3 separate regions of the Homo sapiens genome follow, and regions 2 and 3 are each linked to region 1. Evidence: promoter capture Hi-C in human tissues and cell types (Jung and others, 2019). All regions are on one chromosome and are shown on one strand. The core of a region is centred on a gene start or on the middle of the fragment in contact, and the rest is flanking DNA. Distances in the headings are between cores, read along the strand shown.

Region 1 (2,851 bases), core at 75-2,574:
ATTGTTTAAGTCAATTAAAATTCTGATTTAAGTATTTGGAATTCAGGGAATCAAATTTTTCCTCTTTTGAGGAAATTATTCTTTTTTTCTTTTTTTTGGTTAAAGTTGATTTCACCAACTTTAAGATCCTCCCCAGTGGAAAACTGCATATATTAAACAACACATGGAAAGCAATAATAGCTAAACTTACCTGGCTATTACTGCCCACCAGGCACCATTTTATGTAATTATGCCCATAAACACATATTAAGCTCAGAATACTCTGCTGCAGATTTTTTAATATTCCCATTTTATTGATAAGGAGAAAGCGACAGAGTTGTTTCATAGTTAGTAATGTAGCAAGTTGTAAAGAGTTTCTGCTATAGCTAAATTTCCAGACATCTTTTAAGTCTCATACTTTGGGCTTTTACAAAATTTCTCCAATTAAAAGAATATTATCTGGGCCGGGCGCGGTGGCTCACGCCTGTAATCCCAGCACTTTGGGAGGCCGAGGCAGGCGGATCACGAGGTCAGGAGATCAAGACCATCCTGGCTAACACGGTGAAACCCAGTCTCTACTAAAAATATAAAAAATTAGCCGGGCGTGGTGGCGGGCGCCTGTAGTCCCAGCTGCTCCGGAGGCTGAGGCAGGAGAATGGCGTGAACCCGGGAGGTGGAGCTTGCAGTGAGCCGAGATTGCACCACTGCACTCCAGCCTGGGCGACAGAGCGAGACTCCGTCTCAAAAAACAAAAAACAAAACAAAACAAAAAAAAGAACATTATCTTAATTCTCATCATTAGCTTAGTTTGATGGACTATTTGCTTTATTTAACGGACCATTTGCTCATCTGCTCTATTTTGCTCACAAGGCAGAAAATATCAGAAGCAACAATATTTTGAAGTTTGCTTTCTTTCCTTCGGTTCAAATAACAAGAGTTAACCTGAGAGAGAGAAAGAAAAAGTAGGAAATTTAGAATTTGAAACCAAAGGGAAGGGACTGATATTTAACTTACCACAGTTTCTCCAACATGTATGCGATAACAAAAATATCTGATATTTGAAGACCTCATTTTTAAGCCCTAATCTTTGATATTATTTTTATAACTCGAGTGCCGTGACACCATCCCTGGGGCAACACGGTAGTGGGGAAATGGAGATATGCGCTATGCGTCAGACATGAAGGGTAAGGGAAGAATGCCGTCAACTCACAGGCACTGCTTGGGTGACAAAGGCTGGCAAGCGCGAGGACATCCGCAGGCAGCCAAAGGAGCAAGGACTTCCGTGAAGCAGCCGAAGCGCGGGCGCGGGGACTTCCGGGAGGCAGCTTGAGGCGCGTGTGGAAGCGCTTCCGGGCGGTAGCACGCTGTGTTGGCGGCGGCTCCCCGCTTGCCTCAGCTGCAGCAGCGGGAAGCTCGGTGGCAAGCCCTTGTAGTCCTGTGCGATGGCGTCTCGATATGACAGGGCGATCACTGTCTTCTCCCCAGACGGACACCTTTTTCAAGTTGAATATGCCCAGGAAGCGGTGAAGAAAGGATCCACCGCGGTGAGGAAGCAACTATTACCGGACTATTCCCCGCTCTGACCTGTCAGGCCATCGTTACCCTGCTGCCCCAGCCCACCTTTCCATCCTAGGAGCTCAAGAGAGGAGATTCCCACACTTGTGAAAATTACTTTGTTCTTTTTATTTAGGGAGACAGACTTCTAGATTTGGGCCGGAAGTGGGCAGAGTAAAAGTTAGTAGATTTCCCCTATCTCTGCTGTTCAACTGCCTCTGTTTCATGGTAGCTACAGACGCAAAACTAGGGTGTGTGTGTGGGTGTGTGTGTGTGTGTGTGTGTGTCTCTGTGTGTGTGTGTGTGTGTGTAGGGACGTTAATGATGTGATTGACAATAGGGAAAGCTTCTAATCTGTAACAGCCTACCTATTGAACGCTCGTGGTCCAGTTCCTTGGTAGTTCAGAGACCCCTGGAAAAGTTAACAGTTGCTTCATGTTGGGAACTGTTTTTTAATAACAGTTACAATAAAAAATAAAAGTTGGCCACACCTGCTCCCCAAATACGGACTAAATCAATATAAAATTAAACTTTTGTTGATGAAGAAATGATTAAAAACACAGTTCAAACACACGCGTTAAAAATATCCCAAAATTGCTGGGCGCAGTGGCTCACACCTGTAATCCCAGCACTTTGGAAGGCCCAGGAGGGCGGATCACCTGAGGTCGGGAGTTTGAGACCAGCCTGACCAACATGGAGAAACTCCGTCTCTACTAAAAATACAAAATTAGCCAGGCGTGGTGGCGCATGCCTGTAATCCCAGCTACTCGGGAGGCTGAGGCGGGAGAATCGCTTGAACCTGGGAGGCAGAGGTTGCGGTGAGCCGAGATCGTGCCATTGCACTCCAGCCTGGGCAACAAAAGCGAAACTCCGTCTCGGGAAAAAAAAAAAAAATCCCAAAATTGTCCCAATATTTCCCAGCCTTGTAGAGGCTCAAAAGTCCAAGAACTTCCACTTTTTTGGCCACTTAAAAAATAATGCTGGAAGTTCCTTGAGAGATTACACCCTACCTTAGATTTATGTATCCACATTACTGAAAAACTTAAAAAATACTCAGGGTAGGAGTAATACTGCTGCCAAGTTTTAACTACGTTCAATAATTTTAGTGATTTATAAAAATTAAAGAGGACAAAAGTGCCCTAGTGACACAAGATCTATTACCCCAAATCTTCTAAGGCCTAGCCTATGAATTCAAAGGATCGGATATTTTTATTCTCTCAATTTCATGAGCATGTTTGTTGTGTACTTTGGAAATTGAGACAGTAGCTATGAGAATACACAGTACGTTTCTAAGTCTAGCAGTGTCTATATTTTCTGA
Region 2 (2,755 bases), core at 75-2,574, 160 kb before region 1:
AGAGGACTGGCTATGGTAACAAGAGGTTTTGTTGTTGTTGTTGTTGTTGATACAGAGTCTCACTCTGTCGCCCAGGCTGGAGTGCAGTGGTGCAATCTCGGCACACTGCAACCTCTGTCTTCCAGGTTCAAGCGCTTCTCGTGCCTCAGCCTCCTGAGTAGCTGAAATTGTAGGCACCTGCCACCACACCCAGCTGATTTTTGTATTTTTTAGTAGAGATGGGGTTTCGCCATGTTGGCCAGGCTGGTCTCGGACTCCTGACCTCAAGTGATGAGCCCACCTCAGCCTCTCAAAGTGCTGGGATTACAGGCATGAACCATCACACCTGGCCAGTTTGTGCATTTCTAACGAGCTCTCAGGTGTTGTGATGCTGCTGGGCTGAGGACCACACTTCCAGTGGTCTATCTGAAATTAGCAAGCAAGTCTCCAGAAAAGACCTAGAGGGAATAGAACACAGGGGATAAATCTGGTGACAATGATGCATGAGCTCTGGTCTCAGGAAGGCCAGCACTTGGGAGATTTCTATGGTGGGAGGCTCTGCAAATCCTCCAGGAAAGGCTTGAATATGGTTGCAAGCCACAGAAAAGGCAGGAAACCAAAACTTCCGTTTTGCTGGAAGCTGCCTGGGTTTACAAAAAATACACAACTGGGCTCAGAAAAGCAAACGGGTGAGTCTTCTAATGAACCATCTACATGCCTAGCACCCACACGGGGATCAACGAGAGCCTAGAGTCCTGGATTGTTTAATAAGACCCACTTACTAGTCTCCCTTGACTTTCAAGTTAACACCTCACCGAGGTGACTTCGCATGCACTGGAGTGGCACCTAGCTCCATGGTGGCAGGAACATTATCTGATTGGAGATGATCATCATAAAGGCTTTGGGACAGGAGCATTTGCTAAGTTGGTTTCAGTGAGACTTTCACAAAGCTCCTTAAGCAGTTTGCCTCATAGCAGGCAATATTCAGTCTTCCTCCCTCTGTGGCGTTATGCGGGGGCTTGGAGCTTCATTAGCCTCAGTTTAATTTTTACCAGATCCCTGCTGAGCATACACAAAAGCAATTTTTTTAATTGCCTATTTTTTTATATTTTGTGCTTTTCTTTCTTCTTCTTTTCTTTCATTCAAAAAAATTTATACAAATATTTTTGCATAAAAGAGATGAGTCATTGGTGAAGTTTGAAGTTTTGTTTGTAGGGTGTTTTTAAGGCATTAGGGTAAAGAATATTCTTCTCTTTTTAACACTATACAATTGACCAGCACTTTGGGAGGCCAAGGTGGGTGGATCACTTGAGGTCGGGAGTTTGAGATCAGCCTGGCCAACATGGTGAAACCCCATCTTCTCTACTGAAAATACAAAACTTAACCGGGCATGGTGGCGTGTGCCTGTAATCCCAGCTACTCGGGAGGCTGAGGCAGGAGAATTGCTTGATCCGGGGACATGGAGGTTGCAGTGAGCCGAGATTGCACCACTGTACTCCAGCCTGGGCAACAGAGGGAGACTCTGTCTCAAAACAAAACAAAACACTATACAATTCAGAAATATATACATATTTTTGTCAATAATGGGGCATATCTTTTGGTAACAAAATATAGAAAAAACAGCCCCAAAAATATTTTTTTCAAACACTGTCTTCTTGCATGTAAAATTATATTATTCATTACTTTGCTACATAAAGTATAAATTTAATTTCTGGAAATGATAGTTATATTTAATGCTCATCTTGCAAATATCTTTTATTAAAGATAAACATTAGGCCAGGCTCAGTGGCTCATGCCTGTAATCCCAGCACTTTGGGAGGCTGAGGTGGGTGGATCACGAGGTCAGGAGTTTGAGACCAGCCTGGCCAACATGGTGAAACCCTGTCTCTACAAAAACACAAAAATTAGTTCAGCGTGATGGTGCAGGCCTGTAATCCCAGCTACTGGGGAGGCTGAGGAAGGAGAATCTCTGGAACCCGGGAGGTGGAGTTTGCAGTGAGCCGAGATCGCGCCACTGCACTCCACCCTGGGTAACAGAGCAAGACTCTGTCTCAAAAATAAACAAAAAACCAAAAAACCACATACTATTTTCATTTCTATTTGTCAGTTACAAGCTTGAGACAAACCACAGATAACTTCATTTTTAATTTTCTGAGTTTGTTGACAGCACTTTTCCTTTCTAATCCTTTCTTGAAGATCCAGGATTGGGTAAAAGAGGGGTTTCAATTAGTCAGGAGTTGGCCTTCCTCTTCACAGAAAAAAAACAAATGTTTTGCTGGCATTTGGTACATTGCAGAGGGTTTTCTCTGGCTCTGATCTACAGTTGCTATGTTGAGGAGTCTTCCTGTTTCTATTATATCACTGAGAAGTTCATGTTATTTTAAAATGTCCCCTGCCACAGCCTCGATTCTCCCGAGGAGCATATTCCTTTCCATAGAATGGGCATTTTTCGAACTTAATATCTTACATTTGATTACCATTGGTGCATATTTAAATGTTGTCTTGCTCATCTTGTTTATTACATATATGTATTAAAAACTAATAAAAGCAAAATAATACAAAAAATGAGCATTTCATTTTGGCATCCTCCCTATTACAAAACCCTGCAGATGTTTGGCTGCCTGTGATATATTTTGGGGGGTGGAATTTGCAACTGCTATAATTAAGCAATACCATTAAGTCACCCGAGAGTAAATTAGAAGCTAAACTGGTGCTGTGTGCTCAGGAACCCAAGATTATGGGCTGAGATCTCTATTCAGTGTATGAAGTCAGCTCC
Region 3 (2,788 bases), core at 245-2,744, 220 kb before region 1:
TACTCAGAACTAAAAGTGACATCTTATAAATCTGCCTTAGCCTGGAACTGAAAAGGACCCAATAATCCCACAGATAGTTTTTTGGATAAACATATAAATTGACCCTGCTGGTCTTAAAGCTTGAACCTTACATTTGTTGTATCTGTTTTTTCCTCAGGAAAGGACCTTCAAGCCTGTCAAAAAAAAGTATCAAAGACCTGAAACTCACCAGATCACGGCATCCAGACAATGAGATGCTGGACCCCTCCTTCATCATCATCCTTCCTTGCCCCTCCCTAGCTCTTGTTTTCATTTCCTCCCTCCTGTATGAAACCCTACTTTTAGTCGGTCAAGGAGAGGATTTGAGACTGATCTCCCATCTCCTTGGCTGCAGCACCAAATTAAAGCCTTCATCCTTGGCAATACTGATCATCTCAGTCATTGGCTTTCTGGGTGGTGAGCAGCAGGACCTAGACTGAACCCCTGGTGTCTCAGTAACAGAACCACAGGAGTGGCAGGAGGATCAGAAGTCCATATGGACAGCAACGCTGACTGTCCGGAAGCAGGATAAACACCCTGCTAAATGTGAACCTATTCCATACATTTACATGTCCTCTATGTACAGAACAATATGTCCTGACTATAACTACATTAAGTCATAGTAGTTATAGTCAGGACATATTTTCTCAGTCAAAAGATATTAAAAGTTTAATATGTGAGGGCAGTGGGGAGATTGGCAAATTTTTTTAGCATTGAAAAAGGGCCCACAGAAGGTAAAAATCACAACTTCAGACTCTTTCTTGGCCGACTTCCACTCAAAATTCACCATTCCTGATTTCCATTCCTTCAGGGGCCTGATCTCTGCTTTAAAATGATAGTAAGCTAATATGATAATATAATATGTATTAATAATTTAATGCTTACCCTTCCTAGGTAATATATGTGCATTTTTAACTGAGCTGTTTTAGACAACACACTTTAATCCAAAGCAAACTTTCTAACCCACGTTTCTCTAGTGATGACCTGTCACCTGAGTCCCAGACCTATATATTCTCAGCTTACTAAACATTTCCATTCAAACCTGCCAGAGGAATTGAAACTCAATATGTCCAAAATTGATCCTCCACTTCTATCCTTCACCTCAGTCAGTGACATCACCAATCATTCACTTAAAGCCAGAGACCTGGGAGTTATTCTAGGTTCTTCACAACCCCACCCCAGCCAAGAGCTGATCCAATCTGTCTAACTCAGCATCTCCCAAATGGTGTTTTATGAGCATCGTGTCAATAGGCAAAATACTTTCCCTGATCAAACAAGTTTGGAAAACATTGGTTAGACAAAGTTAAACCTTTTTTATAGAACTAAGGGTTTCTAATATGTTGCCCTGAATTACAAATATCCAAAAAAGAAAATATACCACCTAATGTTCCAAACTCATTTGCCCAGGGAACTCTTATTTTCTTTGCAGAGTATATTGCAGGATCTATGTATTACAGAACATACTTTGAGAAATGCCATGATCAGATATTTTTGAACCGTGTTTTATTATCACGCATTGTCTCATGCAATTTCTGTGTTGTAGATAAGTAGTGTTGTAACAGTGTACATATAAGAAACTGAAAGTCTCAGGCATTACACGACTTGAAAGCCAGAAATGTGAATGAAAATATTTTGTTACAAATATTTATTGAGAAATCCCAGTCAAAATATCACTGGGATTTGGGGGCACTTCATGAAGTGTGCTTATGCTTAAGAGTAAGAGAAAGTCCAAAAGAATCCTAAACAAACAGCTGGCAGGAGCGATGGCTGGAATGTGCTGTTAAGGGTGGGGTTTTGGGAAGGTGGTTCGAGGCTTATTTTCCACTGGTTTGTATTGTTTGAATTTGTTATAGCAAGCTTATGTTATGTTTATAATTTATTTTCTTAAAACATCAATACAGAAAAAAAAATAATAAACAAATCAAATGCCTGGCTGGTGATAGTACTGTTTTAAAAATCCATCTGAAAGAACGAAAATGAAAGAAGAGCCAGACATTCTTGGAAAGTGTAAGAACTTGTGCTACCAATTATTACAATGTACTTAGAGCTGTAGTCATTTTTTTTTTCCTGAGATGGATTCTCGTTCTGTTGCCCAGGCTGGAGTGCAATGGCGCAATCTCAGCTCACTGCACCCTCCAACTCCCAGGTTCAAGGGATTCTCCTGCCTTAGCCTCCCGAGTAGGTGGGATTAGAGGTGCCTGCCACCACACCCAGCTAATTTTTGTATTTTTTCTAGAGACAGGGTTTCGCTCTGTTGGCCAGGCTGGTCTCAAACTCCTGACCTCAGGTGATCCGCCTGCCTCAGCCTCCCAAAATCCTGGGATTACAGGCGGGAGCCACCATGCCCGGCCAAGCTGTAGTCATTCTTAAAGTGAGCTAGTGGCACAGGTATATAGACCAACAGATGAGTTAATCCAATAGAAACTCCACAAATAGAGGCAAGGAGATATTGGCACCACACTCTAACCAATTGAGCTAACAGGCCATCGTGTGAGGCAAGCAGACATAAAAATTTAGTAGACGATTAAGGTGGCATTTTAAAGCAGTGGTGAAAGGAAAACTCAATTTTACTAAATTTTACTAAAACGATAGGGTAGCTATGTCCCAAATAAATAAGCTTGAATTCCTAACTTATTTATTATACTAAAATAAATTCCACATAAATCAGACTTAAAAATTATTATGAAGCCTTGAAAATAATAAAAGAAAACATAGGTAACTATTTTTATAATTCCAGTTTTGAAGGAAGCCTCTTTAAATGTATACAAAA

Evidence for each region. Contacts are between HindIII fragments. The study calls those that stand out against the background at their distance.
Region 2: a contact is called between a fragment that was not itself captured here and the fragment with the promoter of PSMA8 in region 1, in 2 of the 25 tissues and cell types used here (hippocampus and spleen).
Region 3: a fragment that was not itself captured here is called in contact with the fragment with the promoter of PSMA8 in region 1 in 3 of the 25 tissues and cell types used here (IMR-90 fibroblasts, hippocampus and pancreas).

What each region holds. Positions count from the first base shown.
Region 1 is chr18:26,132,545-26,135,395 of GRCh38, forward strand. PSMA8 (proteasome 20S subunit alpha 8) reads left to right here and starts at 1,325. Exons shown (of 7, transcript NM_001025096.2): 1 at 1,325-1,523. The coding sequence starts at 1,422. The HindIII fragment of the contact is 10,391 bases long and covers 1-2,851 here.
Region 2 is chr18:25,976,879-25,979,633 of GRCh38, forward strand. No RefSeq gene overlaps it. Among named protein-coding and RNA genes, the nearest start is that of SS18, 110 kb to the right of the region's middle. The HindIII fragment of the contact is 4,033 bases long and covers 1-2,755 here.
Region 3 is chr18:25,916,518-25,919,305 of GRCh38, forward strand. No RefSeq gene overlaps it. Among named protein-coding and RNA genes, the nearest start is that of SS18, 170 kb to the right of the region's middle. The HindIII fragment of the contact is 3,722 bases long and covers 1-2,788 here.